Regions from separate parts of the Homo sapiens genome. Here region 1 is linked to region 2. Evidence: promoter capture Hi-C in human tissues and cell types (Jung and others, 2019). All regions are on one chromosome and are shown on one strand. Each heading gives the region's core, a stretch centred on a gene start or on the middle of the fragment in contact. The rest is flanking DNA. Distances are from core to core; before and after follow the strand shown.

What was found. Contacts are between HindIII fragments. The study calls those that stand out against the background at their distance.
Region 1: the fragment with the promoter of LDLR here is called in contact with the fragment with the promoter of ILF3 in region 2 in 1 of the 25 tissues and cell types used here (pancreas).

The regions. Positions count from the first base shown.
Region 1 is chr19:11,087,098-11,091,134 of GRCh38, reverse strand. LDLR (low density lipoprotein receptor) reads right to left here and starts at 1,672. Exons shown (of 18, transcript NM_000527.5): 1 at 1,520-1,672. The coding sequence starts at 1,586. It overlaps LDLR-AS1 (LDLR antisense RNA 1), which reads left to right and starts at 1,476. Exons shown (of 1, transcript NR_163945.1): 1 at 1,476-2,067. RefSeq lists enhancers at 332-511, 229-822, 823-1,418 and a silencer at 582-841. The HindIII fragment of the contact is 22,999 bases long and covers 1-4,037 here.
Region 2 is chr19:10,651,205-10,655,876 of GRCh38, reverse strand. ILF3 (interleukin enhancer binding factor 3) reads right to left here and starts at 1,531. Exons shown (of 20, transcript NM_017620.3): 1 at 1,390-1,531. ILF3-DT (ILF3 divergent transcript) reads left to right here and starts at 2,005. Exons shown (of 1, transcript NR_024333.1): 1 at 2,005-4,015. RefSeq lists silencers at 1,204-1,363, 1,444-1,683 and enhancers at 1,774-2,243, 2,484-2,653, 2,519-3,020, 3,021-3,523. The HindIII fragment of the contact is 14,146 bases long and covers 1-4,672 here.

The DNA.
Region 1 (4,037 bases), core at 423-2,922, 440 kb before region 2:
CTAGGGCGAGGCTGTCTCTCTGCAACTAATTTAAAGCCACCTAAAAAGCTCTAACTCAGGATCATGCACTAACCAGCCTCTTGTGGAAATCTAAAATCTAATCCATTTCACCCAGAGGAAAAATCGCCGCTTGGACAGCTGAACCGAAGCCATTCACAGCCTCTGAAGAAGCGAGGCCACCCCAGGGGGTCGGTCCCGGGGGATAGCTGCCCCACCGTGGCTGAAGATCTCGGCTGCAGACCAAGGAGGGGCGGGGAGATTCTGAGGCAACGTTTCAACCTCGTAAGGAACCGAGGCCTTGAGGGTGGCCGGGGGCCCCTCTGTGAACTTGATCGGGGCTGGTGGGGCGAGGGCGCCCCCCAGGACAAGGTGGGGACGGAGGTGTCGCCACAGAGCACAGCGGAAACCGGGGACTTCGCCAGGAGGGCCCAGGATAACGGAGGGCGACTCGTGTATGTCGCGGAGGCGGCTCCGGGGACCCGGGACTTGTCGTCGCCTTTGTGACAGGAACCGCGGAGGAACGCCAGGCCTCCCCTGCATCCGCCTCGCCCCGGACAAGGTGAGGCTCAGACTTCCGCGCCAGCCCCGCCCCGCTCGTACACAAGCCCCGTCCTCCCGACGCCCGCCTCCGCCTCCACCGCCTCACATTGGACAAGGGGAGTGGCTCGAGGGTGGCCTGTTGGACTACACCCAATGGAATTCGGGGGGCGGGCCAAAGGGGCGGGGGCAGGGGCGGGAGGGGGTGGCCCCCGTCCCGGAGCACGCGGCGGAATCCCGGGACTGCACCCAACTCAGGATGGCAGTGGCGCCCTGGGGTCGCGCAAAGCGGATCGGGACCCCTGAGCCCGCGGTGACCTCCAGGCTGGACATCCGGGTCTCCAGTCGCCCTCGCCCCCAGAAGGACTTAAGGCGGGGGTGGGAGTGATCCCTTGTTTTAGGACTGGAGGTCCCCACACCCAGCTCCGAGTTAGAAGAGAGGGTCCCGGCCGGGCGCGGTGGCTGACGCCTGTAATCCCAGCACTTTTGGGCAGATCACCTGAGGTCGGGGTTCGAGACCAGCCTGGCCAAAATGGTGAAAACCCGTCTCTACTAAAAATACAAAAATTAGGCGGGCGTGGTGGTTGGGCGCCTGTAATCCCAGCTATTCGGGAGGCTGAGAGAGGAGACTCGCTTAAACCCGGGAGGCGGAGGTTGCAGTGAGCTGAGATCGTGCCACTGCACTCCATCCTGGGCGACAGAGCTAGACTCCGTCTCAAAGAAGATGCGGTCCCTCACCCTGTGGAGACTTGGGGGACAGCGGTGCCCCGTTTCCCTTAAATCCCTCAGACTCCTCCCGACCCTCGCGCTCCCCTCAGCGCCCCCCTCCAGCGCCCCCTCCAGCCGTTTGGGAAGGACCCCGTGCCATTACCCCACAAGTCTCCCAGGGATGGAGTGATTATTTGTACCCAAAAAAATAAATTCCCAAGGGCCCCCCGGGGGCTCCCTCTCAACCTATTCTGGCGCCTGGAGCAAGCCTTACCTGCAGTCCCCGCCGCGGCGAGGAGCAAGGCGACGGTCCAGCGCAATTTCCAGCCCCAGGGCCCCATGCTCGCAGCCTCTGCCAGGCAGTGTCCCGACCCGGATCACGACCTGCTGTGTCCTAGCTGGAAACCCTGGCTTCCCGCGATTGCACTCGGGGCCCACGTCATTTACAGCATTTCAATGTGAGGTTTCTAGCAGGGGGAGGAGTTTGCAGTGGGGTGATTTTCAAATGTCTTCACCTCACTGCAAGAGGAGGAGTTTCGAACGGCCGATGTGACATCGGCTTTTTAACCCGTGAAGCTCTGATTCCCACTCCAGTCCTTCGAAAGTGTCGCCAGGGCAGGCGACTTGATTTGTTGTATTTGGGTCTCCGGTGAAGAGCTGACGCCCCCTCAAAATTGGAAACGCATCTTCTGAAAGATCCTCCTGAAATTTCTCGATGTTTAACTGTTAACATTTTGCTGTTGTTGTCCACAGAAGGATAACAACAGCCTTTCAAGATCCTCCAATAGCCTAATGCCATTGTCCTCTCTGCCTCAAAAGGAAAACACTAAAAATGTTGGGAACTTCCGCCACTTTCTATATTTGCCTTTTCCTTTCTAGGAATTGTGTATAGATTTTTAGCTTCCTTTCGTTGTATATTGTTTTTACATTGTTATTCCAAATCACCTAATAGACACTGATCAATCAGGAATTTAAATAAAATCTTCACAAAAGTACAGCCAAAAAAATATTTTTTGTTTTGTGGGATCCCGCCTTTGGCTGAGTATAAACATCTGAAAAATCAATTGTACGGATACCTGGAGTCTGGACGTAAATATTGATTTCTCCCCTTAGGAGAAGGAGTTGAACAAACAGAAGGGCGGTTTCCTCTCCCTCAAAGCAAAATCAAAACAAAACAGGGCTTTCACAGTTGAACTTGAACCCCTAAGCCACAGAGAGCTGGTGGAGACCAACTTTTAGAATTGAGTCTCTTTGGGGACTCATGGGGTTGCCAGAGGCCTCTTGCCAAAAAGGCACATGTGAGAAACTTGCCTGAACCCCACACAGGGCTGGGCAGTCTTGGCGGTTCCCCCAGGAATAAGCTGGATTTCTCTGGGATTTTGCAAACTGACTTTGGCAGGCAGTGCTAACCTCTCAGCAGGATTTTAGGGAAACCTAGGAGACCAGGCAGAAAAGGGACAAATTGAACTCTCAGAAGGACAAAAAAAAAGATTAATCAGGGAAAATAATTTTTTAATTATTTTTATTATAATTTTTTAAATAATTATTTATTATTTATTTATCATTATTTCCAGCTGTCACTCAGGCTGGACTGCAGTGGCGTGATCACAGCTCTCTGCAGCGTCAACCCTGGGCTCAAGGAATCCTCCCACCTCAGCCTCCTGAATAGCTAGGACCACAGGAGTGCACCACCATGCCCAACTAATTTTTAATTTTTTTTTATAGATGGGGTCTCACTATGTTGCCCAGGCTGGTCCCAAACTCCTAGCTTCACTCAATCCTCTTCCTCTTGCATCATGATGCCTCTCAAATTGCTGGCTTTACAGGCATGAGCCACTGTGCCCAACCCAGAAGAAGAAATTGATGATAAGAATTTTTGGCAGTTAAGACTCAGTTTCAGAATTCGGCCTTGGACAGATAAATTAGCTTTCCCAACCTGTAAAGGGGCCATCAAAATGCTTGAACCTACTTGGCAGGCTCAGTGTCAAGGTCAAATTGAAATAATTAGCGGGCTGGGCATGGTGGCTCACGCCTGTAATCCCAGCACTTTGGGAGGCTGAGGCAGGTGGATCACGAGGTCAGGAGATCAAGACCATCCTGGATAACACAGTGAAACCCCACCTCTACTAAAAAAAAATACAAAAAATTAGCCGGGCGTGGTGGCGGGTGCCTGTAGTCCCAGCTACTCGGGAGGCTGAGGCAGGAGAATGGCGTGAACCCGGGAGGTGGAGTTTGCAGTGAGACGAGATTGCGCCACTGTACTCCAGCCTGGGCGACAGAGTGAGACTCCGTCTCAAAAAAAAAAAAAAAAAAAGAAGTAATTAGCAATCACCTAGAGAAGTTTACAAGGATAGGCAAGTTCTAGGAGCTGCTGCAACGTTTATAAATGTGTCCCCATTGAATCCCATTCCTTATGCCATTTGCGACATTAAACAAAAAAGTGAAGTCTGGATGTGGTGGCTCATGCCTGTAATCCCAGCACTTTGGGAGGGTGAGGCGGGGGGATCACTTGAGCCTAGGAGTTCAGAACAAGCCAGGGCAACACAGTGGGACCCTGTCTCTACAAAAAATACAAAAATAAGCTGGACATGGTTGTGTGCGCCTGTAGTCCCAGCTACTCGGGAGGCTGAGGCGGGAGGATGGCTTGAGCCCAGGAGGTCAACGCTGCACTGAGCTGTGGTTGTACCACTGCACTCCAGCCTGGGCGACAGAGTGAGACTGTGTCTCAAAAATAAAGATAAGTTTAAAGATTCAACTTAAAGCAAAAAATAAGTAAATAAAAATTTAAAAAG
Region 2 (4,672 bases), core at 282-2,781:
GTGAATGAGGCCCTGGTTCCCACACTTCATTCACAGTCTGGGCGGCTACTGTAACTACATCCCACGAGACCACACACAAAGCATCACGCACAAGGGACAGTGGCAGCACTCTGAGCAATCCATGGAGATTCCCATCCACAAATACCTGAGGAAAAGAGAGCTTAAAGTCCTAAATTTGAATCCTAACTTCGGATGGCACCTCGCGATTCCATGTGGACCACAAATATGCCATCACACCACTCATTTTAAAGAGAGCAAAATCTTGAAAAAGATTCAGCAGCAGTGAATTACCGGAGTCCAGAAAAAGAAACCACTGAAACCGACGCTTCGTTGCTGATCCATGTCACCTAAGCAGCAACTGGCAAACAATGTTGGAAATGTGGAGAAGAGATCCCTCATTCTCCTCAAATTTGGCCACTGAACTGGGGGAGGAGCATGCAGACCGCCGTACACCCCAAATAATTCATCCAGGCGGTGAATTAACTGGGGCAGAACCTCATGAGTAACCTCGAGAATCTCAATCGTTCAACTACTTGAGAAAATAAAGGTAGAAATGGGTTTTAAGCATCCACGTTTCGGGGCCCAGGCTTGCACCCAAGTAGATTGCCGGTCTAGAGAAGGCAAATACTAACAATCTGGAAAAACATTCAACAATGAAAACAAACTAACTAAAGAAAAAGCTGAAACCCTCTCAAGTTTTGACCCTGATCTGAGAGAGGCCTGGCTGACCAGAGATTTGGAAACCCGACGAACCCACAAAGGCTTCCTCAGCAATCCGCGTGGGAAGGGGCTTCCAAGGAGGGGGTCCGCCTCTCCGCGACCTGTGAGGACAAAGGAGGCGACTTTTCCCGCCTCGGGAACCTGGGACTCTCCTGGAATCGGGGGCGGGACCGGGACAAAGAGGAGGAGGGGGTAGGGAAGGAGTGAGGAAGGGGGGTCGCCCCGCCGCGGAACTCGGGACCCGAGGGGGTGTGTGCTCCAAGCACGTGCGCGCGTCCCCAGGACCCCCGCAACAGACAAAAGCCCAGCCGCGGGGAGGCGGCAGCCGGGGGCCCGGTGCGCGCGCACCCCCCCGCGCGTGGCGCCGCCGCCGGCCGAGGGGCCGCGTGCGGGGGGGAGCGGCTGCGCGCGCACCGAGTCCTCGCCGCCGCCGCAGCCGCCATTTTGTTTCCTCCGCACAATGGAAGAGAGTTAACGGCCGAGCGCGGGAGCGAGGCCGGCAAGGGAGGAACGGGCCAGGCGCCGGGATGAGGGAACCGGGCGGAGGCGGCGAGCGTGGGATCCCTCCAGCCTTGTCACCGCGAACCCTCAGTGGGGATCTCACTGAGGGCGGGCGGGGGGAGGGGCAGAGGCGGGAGCGGGCCCGGCCGCCGCCACATTGACGCTTACCTTGTCGGCGTCCCCTTCTTCGACCGCAGCCGCCGCCGCCGCCCTCCTGCCACAGCCCGCCGGGGTCTGCCCCCAAAAGCCACGCGGTGCGCGCCGGGCTGCTGGGTCCAACTGCAATGGCGAGAAGAGGAGGAGGAGGAGTCCGGACCGGGGGCGAGCGGGCGGGCGGGCAGGCGCGCGCCGGGGAGGTGCGGGAACACGTGACCGGCTGAAGCCCCGCCCCCTTTGACGCCGCGTTGCGCCTCGACGCAGGCCCAACCCAAATGGGAGGGAGGGGCGAAAAGAGATAAGGGGGGGGCTGAGGGGGTGGGCGTGAGTTGCACGTGGTGCAAGCGGGAGTGTTTGCGTGCGTAGTCACGTGACTTCGGCACCTTTCCCTCCGCTTTCGATAGGTTGCTCCATCATGTGACAATGGCGAATTTCGCGGTTTCCTTCGCCATCTGACAACTTTTGGCGCCTTCCCTTTGCCGTACTGGGAGTCCTCCATCACGTGACGAGGGCACGCTCTGGTTTTCGCTAAGGCGTTTTTTGAGCGGCCATTACCACGTGATGCAAGGCAAGCGTCAGAGGCGGAGCCTCCCTACGGCTGCGACATTTTGCGCCTGCGCGGCCGCCATCTTACGCCCGTCGCCCTGAGTACGTTAGCGGAAATGGCTCCGAGAGGCTTTGACGCATGTGTACCTTTTTAGTGGCGGTATCTCGGCCGGGGATTTTCGGGCTCCAGTGGAGGTGGCTATGCTCACCCCATCTCCCTTGAGAGGCACAGAAGGTTAGAGATGTGTGCGAGGAACGGCCAGGTCCAGCGTCTCCTCGTTGCTGCCCCTTGAGCCCGGGACCGGCGCCAATGCGCGCCCGGGTTCTTGGGTTCTTTCGTCCCGCAGACCTGCCTTGGTGTGGCGTCCCTGGGCCGTAGCTTCCGAAGGCTGCAGCCGACCTGGTCGGGGTCCTCTAGCCCGCCTTCCCCTTCCCCCATTGACAGATGGAGAAACTGAGGCCCAGGCCAAAAAATATCTCACTAGAGGGCTCACCGCCATTTCCTGGAAAAATTGGGGCTGGGACTCAACGGACGCTCGTCCAGCAGCAGCGCGGAGCTCCGAAGTAAAGGCGCCCGTGACCGAGTGCTTTGTCCTTACAAGCGTGGTGTTCTTGAATGCTTCCAGGCGCCTTATGAGGCCCCCGATGTACAATCTGTGCTTAACTAAACCCCACTGTCTTCCAGGGTCAGGTTGGCCATCCGCAGGCGTAGTTGCTAGGAAGGTTTGACAGATGTCCGCCTGTTGATTCAGACGTTCCCAGGATTTGGAGCAAGAAGAGCAAGGAAGGCCAGGCGCGGTGGCTCACGTTTGTAATCCCAGCACTTTGGGAGGCCGAGGCGGGCGGATCACGAGGTCAGGAGTTCGAGACCAGCCTGGCCAGCATGGTGAAACCCCGTCTCTACTAAAAATACAAAAGAAAATTAGCCGGGTGTGGTGGCACATGCCTGTAGTCCCACCTACTTGGGAGGCTGAGGCAGGAGAATTGTTTGACCTGGCAGGCGGAGGTTGCAGTGAGCCGAGATTGCGCCACTGCACTCCAGTCTGGGCGACAGAGCGAGACTCTGTCTCAGAAAAAAAAAAGAGCAAGGAGGTGTTGAAAATGGGTTTCCTGGCTGGGCGTGGTGGCTCACGCTTGTAATCCCAGCACTTTGGGAAGCTGAGGTGGGCGGATCACTTGAGGTCAGGAGTTTGAGACCAGCCTGGCCAACATGGTGAAACACCGTCTCCACTAAAAATAGAAAAATTAACTGGGTGTGGTGGAGGGCGCCTGTAATCCCAGCTAATCAGGAAGCTGAGACAGGAGGATCGCTTGAACCCAGGAGGCGGAGGTTGCAGTGAGCCGAGATTGCTCCATTGCACTCCAGCCTGGGCGATAGAGTGAGACTCAGCCTCAAAAAAAAAAAAAAAAAAAAATTCGCCAGGTGTGGTGGTGTGCGCCTATAATCCCAGCTACTCAGGAGGCAGAGGCACAAGAATGGCTTGAATCACTTGAACCTGGGAGGCAGAGGTTACAATGAGCCGAGATGGCACCACTGCACTCCAGCCTGGGCGACAGAGCGAGACTCCGACTTCCCATCTTAAAAAAAAAAAAAAAAAAAAAAAAGAAGTGTAAAGATGTGATTATGTGGCAGGGGGTAAGGGTTAAAAAGAAAACAAGAACAAGTTTTCCTCTGCTTAGCCAGCTTACTTCAAGGACAGTTATAACACTGAAAAGTCGAGGCCAAAGGAATGGGCTCCAGACAGCCTCCTCCGGAGCAAAGTTGAAAAGAAAAATTCCTTTACTGTCTCTCCTTTTCTGAACCATTAAATATGACTGTTTGCCAATGGTTGTATTTAGTAAGATTTGTAGACTCTGTTTTTCTTTTGACACAGCTGCAAGGCCAACAGCTGTGCAAAGCCACAAGTTATGCTAAGTCAGCAGTTATGCTATAGATTACATGACCTGTGACTGTATCATTAACTGCTTTTGTTTTGCTTCTGTAAGTTTGCCTATAAAAACCACACTCAGTCTTTGTTCAATGGTCAGCTTTTCAGATACAAATCCACTGAGCCGGTGTACATCTAAATAAATCCTCCTGTTTCCCGTGTCAGTCTCTCTGGTCCTTTGTTTCCTGCAACAATTACAGAAATGAGTGCCTAGCCGGGCATGGTGGCTCACGCCTGTAATCCCCACACTTTGGGAGGCCGAGGCTGGAGGATCCCTTAAGCCCAGGAGTTTGAGGCCAGCTTGAGCAACATGGCAAAACCCAGTCTCTACAAAAATTAGCTGAGCGTGATGGCCTGTGTCCATAGTTCCATCTACTTGGGAGGAGTAGGTGGGAGGATCACTTGAGCTGTGGAGGTCCAGGCTGCAGTGAGCCGTGATGGAGTCACTGCACTTTTCAGCCTGGATGGCACAGCTAGACCGTCTCAAAAAAGAAATGAGTGCATGCTGTACCCTCTGCTTTTCTATTTTATTTACATTTTACTGTGGATTTTTAATAGGTAGCATAGTCACATGATACGTCAAATGTGCCAAAGACGCCGGGCGCGGTGGCTCACGCCTGTAATTCCAGCACTTTGGGAGGCTGAAGTGGGCGGATCACGAGGTCAGGAGATCAAGACCATCCTGGCTAACACAGTGAAACCCCGTCTCTACTAAAAATACAAAAAAAAATTAGCCGGGCGTGGTGGTGGGCATCTGTAGTCTCAGCGACTCGGGAGGCTGAGGCAGGAGGATGGCATGAACTCGGGAGGCAGAGGTTGCA